Regions from separate parts of the Homo sapiens genome. Here regions 1, 2, 4 and 5 are each linked to region 3. Evidence: promoter capture Hi-C in human tissues and cell types (Jung and others, 2019). All regions are on one chromosome and are shown on one strand. Each heading gives the region's core, a stretch centred on a gene start or on the middle of the fragment in contact. The rest is flanking DNA. Distances are from core to core; before and after follow the strand shown. Region 1 holds the start of UGDH (UDP-glucose 6-dehydrogenase). Region 2 holds the start of RBM47 (RNA binding motif protein 47). Region 3 holds the start of N4BP2 (NEDD4 binding protein 2). Region 4 overlaps RBM47 (RNA binding motif protein 47). Region 5 overlaps LIAS (lipoic acid synthetase).

The links. Contacts are between HindIII fragments. The study calls those that stand out against the background at their distance.
Region 1: a contact is called between the fragment with the promoter of UGDH here and the fragment with the promoter of N4BP2 in region 3, in 2 of the 25 tissues and cell types used here (adrenal gland and mesendoderm cells).
Region 2: a contact is called between the fragment with the promoter of RBM47 here and the fragment with the promoter of N4BP2 in region 3, in 1 of the 25 tissues and cell types used here (IMR-90 fibroblasts).
Region 4: a fragment that was not itself captured here is called in contact with the fragment with the promoter of N4BP2 in region 3 in 3 of the 25 tissues and cell types used here (dorsolateral prefrontal cortex, lymphoblastoid cells and small bowel).
Region 5: a contact is called between a fragment that was not itself captured here and the fragment with the promoter of N4BP2 in region 3, in 2 of the 25 tissues and cell types used here (dorsolateral prefrontal cortex and lymphoblastoid cells).

What each region holds. Positions count from the first base shown.
Region 1 is chr4:39,525,992-39,529,046 of GRCh38, forward strand. UGDH (UDP-glucose 6-dehydrogenase) reads right to left here and starts at 1,448. Exons shown (of 12, transcript NM_003359.4): 1 at 1,292-1,448. UGDH-AS1 (UGDH antisense RNA 1) reads left to right here and starts at 1,848. Exons shown (of 5, transcript NR_047679.1): 1 at 1,848-2,347. RefSeq lists silencers at 1,163-1,342, 1,593-1,892 and an enhancer at 2,273-2,332. The HindIII fragment of the contact is 14,033 bases long and covers 1-3,055 here.
Region 2 is chr4:40,628,450-40,631,149 of GRCh38, forward strand. RBM47 (RNA binding motif protein 47) reads right to left here and starts at 1,415. Exons shown (of 7, transcript NM_001098634.2): 1 at 947-1,415. RefSeq lists enhancers at 272-1,148, 1,149-2,026, 1,209-1,278. The HindIII fragment of the contact is 13,848 bases long and covers 1-2,700 here.
Region 3 is chr4:40,055,600-40,058,540 of GRCh38, forward strand. It overlaps N4BP2 (NEDD4 binding protein 2), which reads left to right and starts at 1,251. Exons shown (of 18, transcript NM_018177.6): 1 at 1,251-1,431. It also overlaps the pseudogene LOC344967. RefSeq lists silencers at 463-672, 1,013-1,472, 1,523-1,872 and enhancers at 2,063-2,112, 2,213-2,312. The HindIII fragment of the contact is 26,276 bases long and covers 1-2,941 here.
Region 4 is chr4:40,611,566-40,614,358 of GRCh38, forward strand. The region is part of intron 1 of RBM47 (RNA binding motif protein 47); the gene reads right to left. Among named protein-coding and RNA genes, the nearest start is that of RBM47, 17 kb to the right of the region's middle. RefSeq lists an enhancer at 2,779-2,793. The HindIII fragment of the contact is 4,638 bases long and covers 1-2,793 here.
Region 5 is chr4:39,473,371-39,476,236 of GRCh38, forward strand. All of the region lies in intron 10 of LIAS (lipoic acid synthetase), which reads left to right. Among named protein-coding and RNA genes, the nearest start is that of LIAS, 16 kb to the left of the region's middle. The HindIII fragment of the contact is 7,806 bases long and covers 1-2,866 here.

The sequences.
Region 1 (3,055 bases), core at 198-2,697, 530 kb before region 3:
AAACATTCCAACCCAGAAGGGGTCACTAACAAATAACAAATGCCCTACTACAATCTAAACGGAATATAATCCTTCTAGCCCCAGCTCTCTACAGCATATTTTGCATAGGTACCCAGGAGCTAACGATGGGCATTATAGTTGGATACATCAGCTTCACACATTTTAATCATTTCCAGAAATTAAACAGTAAAAGATGCCTGACCAGAGAAAAATATTTAATCAGTAAGAAAGCCGGTATTAATTTTATGTCTAAGGGTTATCATGTAAAGCTGTGGAAGTAAACAAGAAGGAAGATGGATTATGCTTATCCAGTTATAGATTTTGTTAGAAAAAGGAGTACAGCAACGGGAGAAGAAATGAGATCTTTTCAATCAGGGTTGTCTACCCCTTACCTTAAACTGGATCCTGGCCACTAATAAGCACATCTCAGAGCAGACAGTCAGCTCTTTCATTTCCAGAACCCCCCTGAAGAAAGACTACTGTTCTCCATTTCTTAAGGGATTTGAAGAAACTCAAAGGCTCACTGTGTCTTTGAGGTCTGTCGATAGACAGCTACTGCTCTGTATGCCCATGAATAGATCCCTACCAGCGAACCCCTCTTTTCTCTATACTAGAATTCCTAACCCTACTAAGTTATCTTCCTATATATTTATAGGACGTATAATTTTTCAAGATCTCACACAAACATGGTCTCCCGAGGCACCCAGGAAAGGCCTTCCCCGACATCAAACAGAGCAATTCTGTGGTGTAGGGGGCCAACAATGGATTCCAGGACATCCCGGACAGATATCACGGCAGTCTTAGTATTTTGCTCTCAAGAGGGCTTTCTGGCTTCGTTTCTCTTTGGTTTCTTAAGAGGGGCGGCATGAGAAAAGCAGGAGCCCCTCAGGTGAGCAGACTCTTAAACACAAACAAAAGACTACGACTCTGCGGCCAAAATGAGGTCCCCAACGAGAGAACCGCTTCCTGTGGTGGGCGTTCGGCTTTGGAGGCGGCAGGGAAATCTCATCCAAGTCAGGAAAGTGGGTAAAGGCAGAAAGAGAAGGGGCTGGAAGACTCACGAGTCTTGAATAAGAAGCCCAGACGACCACATCCCCAGGACAGCAGTTCCAAAATGCGGTTCCCGCCCTAAGCCCCAAAGAGACGAAGGTCGTGAGACGGGAAGCCCGGGACCCAGCGCAGCGAGCGACCGGGAGCAGCGCGCACACCCCAGCCCCGCTCCCTCCACATCCCGCCCAGACCTGGGAGCATCCCGCCCGGGCGGCGGGGCCAGCCTGGGAGCGGCGCTTACCCACTTCCCAGCAGCAAGCGCAGGGACCGCTCCTATCCCGATCGTTCGGACAGCACCTTCCTACGGGCCGCGCCGCCGCAGCTTCTCCACCCGCGCCCCGCTCGATCTGAGCTCCCTCTCGGCGCACGCCCCTCCCTCAGGCTGCCACGCGTTACACTCTGAGTCCCGGGCCTGAGCCCGTATTTAAAGGCTTTTGCCTGCGAAGGCGGAGGCTTCATTCCCCCGCAGCCAGGCCCTCCTGGATTCTGCCCTCAGCTGCTTCCTAGCTCCCCCTCCCGCTACACAAGGCCCAGGGCCAGGTCCCTATTTCCTTCACGGCTCAGGGGCGGGGAGACTGGGGCTGGTCCTGGCTGGGAGGGCCTGCCCCGCCCCTGGCCTAGCTGGGCAAATCCGCTTTGGCCAGCTCAGCGGCTCCGCCCCTACCGCGAGCGGCGCTGGGCGGGGCTGCGTGCGTGGCGTGTCCGCTGGACCAGGGGACGGGGGCGCGCCGCAGGTGTAGGAGCTTTGCGCGCCTACCTGGCGGTCGTGGGTCGAGGAGGGGTCAAGAATTGTTGTCTAGCAGCCCTCTCCCCGCTGCCCTGTCCTGGCCGAGGCAAAGGCCGCGTGCGCTCCGCGTCTGCCAGGCTTTAGGGCTGCGCGGACACTGGGTGGGTGGTGGGCCGAGGCGACCGGAAGGTCCTGGCCGCCTTTCCGGTCTCCTCAGCACCCTGGAGCGCCGCCCTCGGGTTTCGGTCTCCTGGATCTGCGGGTCGGTCTCGGCGGGCGGATTACTCCTCGCCCACAACCTCGAGGCCCCGGGGTCAACCGCGCCCTCCGGGCCGGCAACCCAGGGTTTAGTCAGATTCCTCCTGACCCACCGCTTCTGGGAAAGAGGCGCCTCCCGTCAGGAGGATGCTGAGTTCCTCATGACTGGACCAGTGAGTGTCCACTCCCTGGTCCCTGGCGAGAGAGGCGGGACCCCCACGCCCTCCTGGCGCTCTTTGCAGAGATGTTCCTCAGGCCCAATCCGGGATTTGGGATGTCTGTGCGTGCTGTGGAGCAGAGAGTTTGCAACATGTAAGTGCCGTGCGTGAGGAAGAGTAAAATTAACCTATGGAGCCTGCTCATTTTTAATGTGGAGGGCAGTTCCGTTCCTTTCTTTCGCCGCTTCGAGGTCATTTTAACACTCAAATCTAACATATAAGAAAAAAAGCCAGGCATAATCATGGCCTTTTATTTCCCTCATTAAGGATTACATCAGGTGACATAAGCCATTTTAACATACATCATGAAGAAAGTGATTAGTAATTTATAAAGGCACATTAAAATACCATATAAATTACGGTTTTCTTGATAGGATCATGATGGTGACTTTAAGAAAGTGGTTGAATGTGGATGAAACAGTTTGCTGTGGATTGTAGCACGTGTGGCAGGATATGTAGGCTTGTTGGTTGGTTGTTTTGAGACGGAGTCTCCCTCTTGTCGCCGAGGCTGGAGTGCAGTGGTGCGATCTCGGCTCACCTCAACCTCCTCCTTCCAGATTCAAACGATTCTCCTGCCTCAGCCTCCCGAGTAGCTGGGATTACAGGCGCCCACAACCATGCCCGGCTAATTTTTATATTTTTAATAGAGACCGGGTTTTGCTATGTTGACCAGGCTGGTCTCAAACTCCTGACCTCAGGTGATCCGCCCGTCTCGGCCTCCCAAAGTGCTGGGATTACAGGTGTGAGCCACTGTGCCTGGCCAGTATATGTAGGCTTTCTGCATTCTATGCAGTTCAGTTCA
Region 2 (2,700 bases), core at 165-2,664, 570 kb after region 3:
AGAATCGGCACCTGCAATTCTCAAATGCTCTGGATCTAATTGCCAACCTTTTGAGCTCAAAACTTCGGCAACTCCTTCATGTTGGGTTGTCAACCCTTTGCTTTCCCTCCCCTGAGAAATTCGTATGACCTTGCCTTAAAACTTTTAAAGAATACATTTTAAAATCTATATTCCTGCTAAAGAAAACAGTGAGTCATTAAAATACCACCAGATAAAAAAAAAAGGTTTGATTTTTAGTTCAGGTCGGTAATGGCCTGTAAGTACCTTGAAGATGGTATCTTCCTATCACTTATGCCTTGGGACAGTACCCAAGAGTGGCTGAACTTTTACCTAATTAAAAAATGAGTCATTTATTTGAAAAATTCCACTTCCATTTATTTTATCTGATTTCTTAAATATCCGGTCAACTGCTAATTTGTCAGATGTCATAATTCGTCAGTCCTACCCTTTTCTACAGGCTGAATTTTTAATTTGAAACAACTACACCTCTACCGAGTGTTACTTTCAGACGTAAATTACTGCAGGAAGACCCCCCTCTGCCTTGGTTAACACTTAAATGAGATGCCTCCTGTCCAGGACGCTTCCTCAGTCTCACTGTAATAATCTGAGTCTAAAGTCACCTGTGCTTCTGGGCGGTCCAATCATGTATTTTCAAGAGTGAAAAAAAAAAATCAGTTTCTTTTATGGGAAAAGATTCATCACTACAGGAAACACGATGGGACTGACTGTATATGATTATCTGCCTTCCCAGAGGTTGACCCTTTTAAAACCGTTTTATAAACCCTTTATTTCCCACTAAATATACCAAGAGACAGAAGATGAGTGATAGCATGAGGGATAAGAGCTAAAGAGAGAAGAATAAGAAAAAAATATACACTTCAAAAATTGGGACCCAAATGTAAGATTAAGGGACAATAGTTAGAAGGACTACCAAAAACCACCTTACCTTTCCTTGTTAAGTTTTTGGAGCCGCCCACTTCAGAAATTAACACCATTCACAGCCCAGGAGCAACTTAACACAGCTAGGAAGTCACCTACAACATCTTCTCGTCCGCCTTCTTTTTAATGTAAAACCAAAATAAGGAGTGTCCAGCGACTCCCCACCGCGCCGCTTAAAGCAACAGAGCGTTTTAGGCTTAACTCCCAGGCTCTGGGAATTCCAGTGGGTCAGAATTGCTTAACCTTGGAGACTTGCAGAGAGAAAGTCTCCAGGAGGACCGCTCCCCAAACCCTGGTTTCTCTCTATCCCAAGCTGCACATTCCACAGTGGAAAGCGGGAGCGGCGACCCGAAGGCAGCGAAGTTCTCTCGGGCTCAGCTCCCGAGGCCGGGAGCGCGCGGCGGTTCCACCCGCAGAGCGGCGCCGCGTCCCGGCTGCGTGGGGCGCTGCGCACGGGAGCGCTCAGCGTCTAGTCTGCGGGCCCTTCCCGGTTCCCTCCCTCTCTCCTCCCGCCGCCCGCCCCCTGCCGAGGCCATCCGCCTCACAGTAGCAAGGTTGTCTCTCGTCTACTCCCTTCCCTTAAACTCACCAAACCAGATTTTTACTCCCAACACCGGCAACTTCCCGTAAATCTGCCCTGAAATTTTATCCTGCTGGCTGAGCCTCCCCTGGCTAAAGGCCAGTGCCACATTCCTGTTGTTTTTTAGGAGCGCAGATACCTTTGCTGAAGGTTCAAAGAAAATCGGCCTTGATGGCAGAGATTGGGGGACTTGACCAGACGGACTTCTCTCCCCGCCCCAAAAGTCACATGCCTTTCAGACACCCAGAAGTGGCACCTGCTCCACCTGGGGGCATCTGTCCGAGTCAGACGCTCGGCCCCCTTCGGGCTGCTCCGAGAAACCCAGCCAGAACCACGTTGGAGAAATTAGGAACCTGCTGCTGAATTTCAAGCCGATCGGAACCGCCCCGCTCCCCTTCTTCCCCCCATAAACAAGTCGCTGGACGAGGTGGGATCTCTGCGACCCCCGCGTGCCCGGGGAGAGCTCCCGGGGCGAGCTCCCGGGGCGTCCTTACCTGGGGCCGAGCATGGCTTGGCCGCGCGCAGGCAGGAGCGTCACGCGGACGGGGCCCTGACCTTTGCCGGGGCCTTCGCAGCAGGGCCTGGGGCCTGGGCGCTGCTCGTTCAGAAGTGGCTCATTTTAGTGCGCTCTGACCTAGAGTTACGGAGGGTTTCTAGAAAGGGAACAAAAAAACACTGCATTTAGAAACAGCAGCCAAGCCCTCGCTTCACCTTGCCTGCTCTCTGGGGAGTTGGCTCGAACCCCCACCCCATCCCAATTCCCAAGAAACCCAGATGTCCGCAATCCGCGCCCCACCCCCTCCGCCTTACCTGTTTATACAAGAGTTAAGGAGCCTCCCGCATTTCAGTGGAGCGCTAAGCCTGTTTGTAGGCGCGGAATGGGCCAACAGGAATCGAATTCTGTGACTAAACAAACTAGAAGAGGAAGCAGGCACCACCAGGAACCTAAAACAGAGTTGTGATTTCGGGTTGCAGTGTCATTCAGCTGAGGGGAAAGAAAAAAATACCGGGCTACTTTAGTGAAAGAATGTTCCAAAAATGGTTCTTTGCTGGTTGAGTTAACACATGCAAAGAGCTTAGAACGGTGCCTAGCACACAGTGTTAGCTGCCGTTATTGTTGTTGTTATTCTTCTTATTATTATTTACATTATGGCTTTTTTCTGAAGAAGAGTGTGTGGTCA
Region 3 (2,941 bases), core at 1-2,500:
CACTTTGTCATGAGGTTATTTCGCTTCTCTATTCTGGGAAAAACCACTGCAAGTGGAATGAAAAGTAACCGCAAAGGGAGGGGACGGAGGAAGTAAAAAACAGGCAAAACCACCACCACTACCATCACCACCACCACCACCAACCAGAAAGCAAAGGTGAAAAATTTGCGTACCCTGAAAACACTAAACATTTCACATCAGAACCCAGAACAAATAAACCAGGGAAAGCAGAGTTGAGAGAAAAAAAATGGTGCAGGCTTGGGGACGGACTCATACTACAGCGGTCGCAAGAGGGAAGAGCACGTCTTTGCTTTTTCTTGGCATCCGAAAACTCAAGCTCGAACTGGGGGCAAAGGCCAGCGGCTGCGGTTCCACCGGCTAAGGCGCACACATTCCCCGAGCTCAGACCGCACGCTGGCAGGGCCGATGGGGCTGGGCAGCCTCCCTCCACCCCGTGGCAGTCGCCTACCCCTTTGTCTCCCCGTGGGGCTCCGAGGCCGCGCGCCCGGAAGCCCCCCGCGGGAGGGCCGCGCGCGAGAAGGCGGGTTCCCGTGCCCGCCGCAGCGGCCACGGCCCTAGTCAGGCAATGCCGAGGCCGGTCGCTCGCCTCGCCGTCCCTCCCAACTTGCAGCCTGGACCCCGCGCGCGTCAGGGCTCGTCCCAGCTCTGCTTTCCTTTCTCCCCTCACCTCGCGAGGCCGACCTTGTGTTTGTTTTGTTTTTTGGGGCTCGGGAGAGTGCCGAGGGCTAGAAACAGCTGTGGTTTACCGCGCCGCTTATTTTGGCAAAAATTCCGGGCCTGTTGCAATGTTCCCCAGCGCCAAACAGCTCCCGCCTTCCCCCCAAGCAGAACCCGACACTCGAAGAAGGGCTTGCTCCTCCAGGGACCCCCTGATAAGAAAAGTGGGGACCACGGCCCGCTCTCGGGCGAGACTTGGGGGGTGGGCGACCGGAAGCAGCCGAACCGGCCGGGCAGGGCTTGCTCTCCAACGGGAGAGCGGGAGCGGGAGAGGTGGGAGCGCCCGCGGGCTCAAGTCCCCCGGGCCGCCGCGCCGAGGCGGAGCTCGGGGACGAAGCAGAGGTCGTGGCGGACAGCCGGCGGGCTTGGGGGGGGGCGGTGGGCGGCGATCCACCTGGGCGACGTGGCAGCCATTGCCGGCGCCTCGAGACCCCTCCCCACCCGGCCGCCCACCCGCCCTCTCGCGGCGGGCTTCTGCGCGGCTGCTCTTCCCCGGCCGGACGGAGAGCGGCAGTGTCTCCCCGCCGGGCGCGCTCGCCGTGTCTCCCCCGCGGCCGCAGCTGCTTGCTAGCCTTGCGCGGCGCGGGAGAGCGCAGTGGCGCCGGCGGGAAAGGGCTGCGGACCTGCGGCGCCGCGTTGTGCGTTCGACGACGCGGCACCGGCTTCGACGCCCTCTGCCCGCTCCAGAAGCAGGTAAAGGCGGCGGGTGGGAGGCAGGGAGGCGGGTCCAAGGTGAGGGCCCTGGAGGTTAGGGGTCCCGGGGCTCCGAGCCGAAGCGGAGGGCCTGAAGCAGCGGCGGGCGGCGCGGCGAATGAACCCCCAAGCCCTGAATGTGGGGCCCGGCGCGGGCCGCCTCCGATCTGACCCGCGGGCCCGGCTGCCCGGACGGAAGGGAAGTGAGGCGTCGGCGAGAGGCGGGCCCTGGCGCTCAGCCCGAGGCCGGGCGAAGGCGGGGGCCGCGGCCGCTTCCTTGGCCTCCGAGTGCCTGGCGGGCCTCCAGGCCCCAGACACACCCCTCTCGACCCCCCGAGGTTTCCTCCCAGATCTGTTCCCGCCGGGACCTGACCTTGCGCCCCTCCAGGCGCCTTAGGTGTTTGCCAGGCGGAGCCTTCTGGGAACTTCAGGCCACCTTCCTGAGCACATAGTCCTAGCAGAGCCGTTTATTTACTCAGTTCAAGTCCAGACACACAGCCACTCACACGTTCGGATTTTGGAGACTGCGGGGAGACTTTCCCCTCCCCGGCATTTGTGTGTCTTTGGCCCTCGTCCCGCCTCCCCTGCCCCCATCTGCAACTTTGTCCCTCAATGGGACCCTTCTAGAGCCCCTCTCTCATCGGGACTCTCTCTAAGCCGTCCGTTTGGAAATTCATCCTCAATAGAGTGAGTCATCTTAGCGGGGGCACAGTTTATCTCTCATGCGCTTTTGGTTAAAATAGTTTTTTTTTTCCCTCCGAAAGAGAGCTAGAGTAATAGAATGTAGATGACAGGTCAGTGTCAGTGTTGGCTTCAAAGGCTCTTCCTTTCGGCGGCAGTCTTTGTAACTAGGATCTGATATTTGTGGCACGGACAGGTTTGTACACATTCTCGCCATGCAGTGGTTGTAATGTCTCCATGGCACAGTTCTGGCTTGAAGGCAGGATTGGCTGCTTTTTCTACTCGACATCTTTGAGCCAATCAGCAAGGGCTGCTTGCCTGGAGACTGGTTAACTCAGTAAAGGTGGCCATTGGTTGAGCTCCTAGAAGAAAATCCTGGAGATGAACCTAGCCTCTCAGAAAACAATGACTGATTTGCAGCTGTATTAAAAAAATGTTTTCTTTTAATCCCAACATCAGCCTTTTCACTCCGTTTTTATTACTTCCAGTGTTTTTCTTTCAAACACCAGCTGTCTTTTGTAACTCGTTTTAACTCTCATCCTTTAATTTTAACTAAAAGACGCGCTTTAGGAAATGTAAACATCGTGTGTTCTGTGTTTTGATAAACGTGGTTCCATCTGCCTTTCTAACATTGTTTACTGCTAAAGGTCAGAAATAAACAGTTTTGAGTTTCGCTGCCAGGACCTTTTATTATTTAAGTGCCGTGCTAGGATGGGGGGTAGGAGCGAGGGGCTGTAGTGGTGGACATGGTGGGAAGAATAGGAAATAAATGGCTGCTCTTTTGCAAGGAGGCTACAATTTAGTTAATGAAAAAAGACTAACCTGTAAA
Region 4 (2,793 bases), core at 155-2,654, 560 kb after region 3:
CAAAAAAAAAAAAATTAGCTGGGTATCGTGGCGCATGCCTGTAATCCCAGCTACCAGGAGGCTGAGGCAGGAGAATCGCTTGAACCCGGGAGGCAGAGGTTGCGGTGAGCCGAGATCGCACCATTGCACTCCAGCCTGGGCAACAAGAGCAAAACTCTGTCTCAAAAAAAACAAAAACAAAACAAAACAAAAAAAACCACCCACATAGAATCATCAAAATGAGTTTTGGAAGCAAACTTGAAATCACTATTCAAGACTTGGGCAAAACCAAAGAGCATCTGAGATTAAACTGGGACATCTTATCCAAGATATCATTGATTATATATATATAATGTATCTCCAATAAGATACATGAGAGGTGTAATAAAATAATCAAGCGTTGAGTCTTGGCCTTCCACGCAAGACTCAGGCCTCTTCAGAACAGAAGGATTAAGATGGAAATGGAATAGAATTCAAATGTTAAAAGAATGAAGGGTCAAGAGCGTTGGAATGAAGGTAAATGGGCCACCTGTAGAAGTCTGAAAGTGAGCTTTGGAGGGAAGAAAAGTAAATACTGCTTTAACAAGAAGTCCTGGGGAATCTGAATGAATTAGATCCTGATCATGGATCCATAACATGTGGATGTGGAGAATTAATGGTATCTAGGGTCCGTATCTAACTGATATTCAAGAAGTATAGTTAGATGGCCGGGTGCAGTGGCTCACGCCTGTAATCCCAGCACTTTGGAAGGCCGATGTGGGCAGATCACTTGAGGTCAGGAGTTCAAGAACAGCCTCTACTAAAAACACACACAAAAAATAGCCACGTGTAGTGGCACATGCTTGCAATCCCAGCTACTTGGGAGGCTGAGGCAAGAGAATAGCTTGAACCCAGGAGGCGGAGGTTGCAGTGAACCAAGATCGCACCACTGCACTTGCACTCCAGCCTGGGCAAGAGAGCCAGACTCTGTCTCTCAAAAAAGAAGAAGTATAGCTAGAAATTCTAAGAATGACTTTGTCTAAAATATATTCTCTGAAGTCTGCAGAAACTAGGATGAGCAGTTCTTTAATCTGATCCAACAGGGCATTTGTAGGACTTTTGTGACCTTAAATGAACTGAAATAACACAAAAGGTCATCAGAGAATGTCCAAGCTTCTCAGTACACATCATTTTCCCATTTATTAAATTTGAAGGTATCTTATATTCAGCAAAAATGAGAGCTCATTCAGCTGCATTTTATTTCCACTACAAAGAAGTCAAACCTAGAACCCATGTCAATTTGCAGAGGGATCTTCATTCACCTATGATCTTCATCCCCTAGGCTTTTGTTTCATTTCCTTTGGTTGTAATTAATTTATTATGGAAACTTAGGTAAACTCAGCTTCTCTCAGCCAGGAACAACTGCAAACACATTTATTTATCTTTCTTCCCCAAATCTACAAGACATCAAATATTGACTAAAAGGTTTCTTCAAAGGAAAGTCAGCCTGGTACACGGAGCTCATTTCTAGCCATCCTTGAATGTTTGCTGTTTTCCCAAAGCTGCTGACAGTCCAGCTATACACCAGCATGTGTTCATTTAATATAAGTGTCTCGCCATGAAGCTGAAAGCACTGTACAATGATTTTTATTTTTTTTGCTTTAAATGAAGTCAAGATACAGTCTTAATAAAACATAGGACAACTTCATTTTAACCAAACCTAAACCTTTAAACTTCAGGCATCTTTAGGTCTGAAAAGATTCTACTAACAACTTTCTCAAAGTTCAGCTTTGTCCAAAATATATAAATATCAAGAAGTCCCTCAATAAAAAAAAAGTATACCAAAACTCTGGGGATATTCTAATGACATTAGTAGCCTCGAAAGAAAAATTCTTAGAATCTGAGAAGGAAACAGTGAAGTGACTGAATCCACAAGAAAGGGAAAAATAAACTACGAAATGACTTTTCTAGCAGGCTGCTGTTAAAACACTTAACATTCCTAAGAACAGAGTTCAGTTCAACTTTTTACTGACCTTCTCCCCTCATACCTTCTTAGACCCTGCATCATCAGAAGACAGATGAGTTTAACTCATTGGTGATAAAAAACTAAAGAAAGGAATGCTGTTCATGGTGTGTAAGACAGTAGTAACAGGCCAGGTATGGTGACTCATGCTTGTAATCCCAGCACTTTGGGAGGCCAAGGCAGGAGGATTGCTTGAACCAGGAGTTCAAGACCAGCCTGGACAACATAGTGAGATCCCATGTCTTAAAAAATAAAACTTAAAAAAAAAAAAAAGGACAGTAGTGACTGTGGAGAACAGTCTAGAATTGGGTTTCTCAGCCTCAGCCCTATGGACATTTTGGGCTGGATAATTCTTTGTTTTGAGTGGTTCTCCTGGGCATTGTAGGATGTCCAGCAGTACACCTGGCCTTTACCTACTAGATGCCAGAAGCTCCCAATCCCCATCCCCACTACTGCCTCCCACATTGTGACAACCAAAAACATCTCCAGACATTACCAAATGTTCCTTGGAAGACAAAATCTAGAACCACCAGTCTGGAACCATCCTATATACTAGCAATATTCACTATCTCAGAAGGGATCTGAGAGTTAAGAATCAAATCTGTAAGAACTTTGTAAGATTTGGAACGAGCCATCTAACCCAGCATTATTTCCTTCCTGCGACTTAAAGCCAAGTAACCATCCCCCATCCACCCAACCCCCATCTTCCCTTCAACATCAAATGAACCAGCAGCCTTTTAGTGACTTGAACCATGAAAGTAAAAAGAATTAGAGAAAATTGCAGCTGTGTAAAACATAAGTCAAAGCCTAGT
Region 5 (2,866 bases), core at 316-2,815, 580 kb before region 3:
TGGGGATCATATTAAGAAAAGTTTCTCTTAATCTTTTGTTTCTTAAACAAATTCAGCCCCCTGCTTTGTAACTCAGCTACTATAGTAAAAGCAGAAACAATTAGTTTATTAATTTTTTCTATGTGTAGATTTCAGTAGTAGGTTATTCAGAAATGACAGAGCATGTCAAGCATCTAATAGGGTTTTCTGAGAAATACATATTTATTTGGAAATGATGCCAGCTGCATCTCCAGACTCAGTTTCAATCAGTTTAAGCACTGAAAAGTATCTTATTTGATAGCATTGCTTGCATCATTAAATTTCTTTGTATTTTTCCCCCAGAGGCAACAGAAAAATATCCATAAGATTATTTTTCTCCGTAGGAACGTTTAGTTGTTTTACTAGCTACAATGCAAATTTTTTTTACTTTTGGAATTTCAGCTCTTATTTTAATCAATAGCTTGAATTGATTTATGAAAAGAAAATCATTTTCCAAGGGATAAAAAGTCATGTGATAATGATTGTCGGAGGATCCAAAAGAACATATCTGAAGACCGAATTTAATCTAGAAAGTGTTTATGATGTCCCTGTCAGTTGGACTTAACAATTATAATGATTAAGAATAAATTGGCTGGCCAGGTGGGGTGGCTCACACCTGTAATCCCAGCACTTTGGGAGGCTGAGGCGGGCAAATCACGAGGTCAGGAGATCGAGACCATCCTGGCTAACACGGTGAAACCCTCTCCACTAAAAATACAAAAAAATTAGCCGGGCATGGTGGCGGGCACCTGCAGTCCCAGCTACTCGGGAGGCTGAGGCAGCAGAATGGCATGAACCCAGGAGGCCGAGCTTGCAGTGAGCCGAGATTGTGCCACTGCACTCCAGCCTGGGCAACAGAGCAAGACTCTGTCTCAAAAAAAAAAAAAAAAAAAGAATAAATAGGCCAGGCAAGGTGGCTCATGCCTGTAATCCCAGCACTTTGGAAGGCAGTTGGATTACTTGAGCCTAGGAGTTCAAGGATGCAGTGAGCTATGATCGTGTCACTACAGCTCCAGCCTGGGTGACAGAGCAAGACACTGTGTCTCAAAAATAAAATAAAAAAAAGAAACAGCTAGGCCAGGTGTGGTGGTGTGTGCCTATAGTCCCAACTTCTTGGGAGACCGAGGCAGGAGGATCGCATGGGCCCAGGAGTTCAAATACAGCCTGAGCAACATTGTGAGATCTCATCTCTTTATTTTTTATTTTATTATTATTATTTTTTTTTTAGATGCAGTCTCTCTCCATCGCCCAGGCTGGAGTGCAGTGGCACAATCTTGACTCACTGCAACCTCTGCCTCTCAGGTTCACGGCATTCTCCTGCCTCAGCCTCCTGAGTAGCTGGGACTACAGGTGCCCGCCACCACGCCTGGCTAATTTTTTGTATTTTTAGTAGAGACGGGGTTTCACCGTGTTAGCCAGGATGACCTCGATCTCCTGACCTTGTGATCCGCCCACCTGGGCCTCCCAAAGTGCTGGGATTACAGGTGTGAGCCACCGCACCCGGCTGACCTTGTCTCTTTAAAAATAAACTAGGTATTGGCCAGGCGTGGTGGCTAATGCCTGAAATCCCAACACTTTGGGAGGCCGAGGTGGGCAGATCACAAGGTCAAGAGATTGAGATCATCCTGGCCAACATGGTGAAACCCCATCTCTACTAAAAATACAAAAATTAGCTGGGCATGGTGCTGCGCACCTGTAGTCCCAGCTACTCGGGAGGCTGAGGCAAGAGAATAGCTTGAACCTGGGAGGCAGAGGTTGCAGTGAGCCAAGATCCTGCCACTCCACTCCAGCCTGGCGAAAGAGCAACACTCTGTCTCCAAAAGAAAAAATATATATACAAAAATTAGCCGGGCATGGTGGTGTGTGCCTGTAGTCCCAGCTACTTGGGAGGCTGAGGCAGGAAAATTGCTTGAACCCGAGAGACAGAGGTTGTGGTGAGCCAAGATCATGCCACTGCACTCCAGTCTGGGCAACAGAGCAAGACTCTGTCTCAAAAATAAATAAATAAGTAAATAAATAAATAAACTAGGTATTTTTTTTTTTTATCTAAAGTGGTGATGTTTTAAATGATTGCTTTATATATTGGGGTCTAAATCTTAAATATGTTTAAATTAGACAAATTCTATTTGAAAAAATTAATGCTCCAGTATTAGTAATATTCTGTATGTTCCTAGTTCCTATAAAGACATTTAAGGCCGGGTGCAGTGGCTCACGCCTGTACTCCTAGCACTTTGGGAGGCCGAGGCGGGTGGATCACTTGAGCCCAGGAGTTCAAGACCAGCCTGGGCAACATGGCAAAACCCCATCTCTACAAAAATACAAAAATTAGCTGGGTGGCTGAGTTGCTGGGTGGTGGTGGGCACCTCTAGTTCTAGCTACCCAGGAGGTTGAGGTGGGAGGATCACCTGAGCCCAGGAGGTTGAGGCTGCAGTGAGCTGTGATCGTGCCACTGCACTCCAGCCTGGGTGACAGAATGAGACCCCGTCTCAAAAATAAATAAATAAAAATAGTAATTTAAAACATTTTAATGAACTAGTAGCTCATCATAGTTTGAAAACCCAAGAATTTGATTCAGCACTGAGTGACAGAATGTGGGGACTTTGAAAACCAGTAATTGTAAGTGATTTAGTCTTCAAGCAGCACTGCTGGCAAGCTAAAAATACATGTGAAGGATAGAACCACTATCAGCTTCTAGAATGGTTAGAGTAATGTCCTTTGAAAGGAGTTTTTCTTTTGCTAAAGAAAAATTTCTAACATAAAAGGAAGTAAATTATGAACTTTCTGATGCTTTCTAAATTACCAGGAAAAGATCAGATTCTGGTATATGATGAGCATTAGACTAAAATGA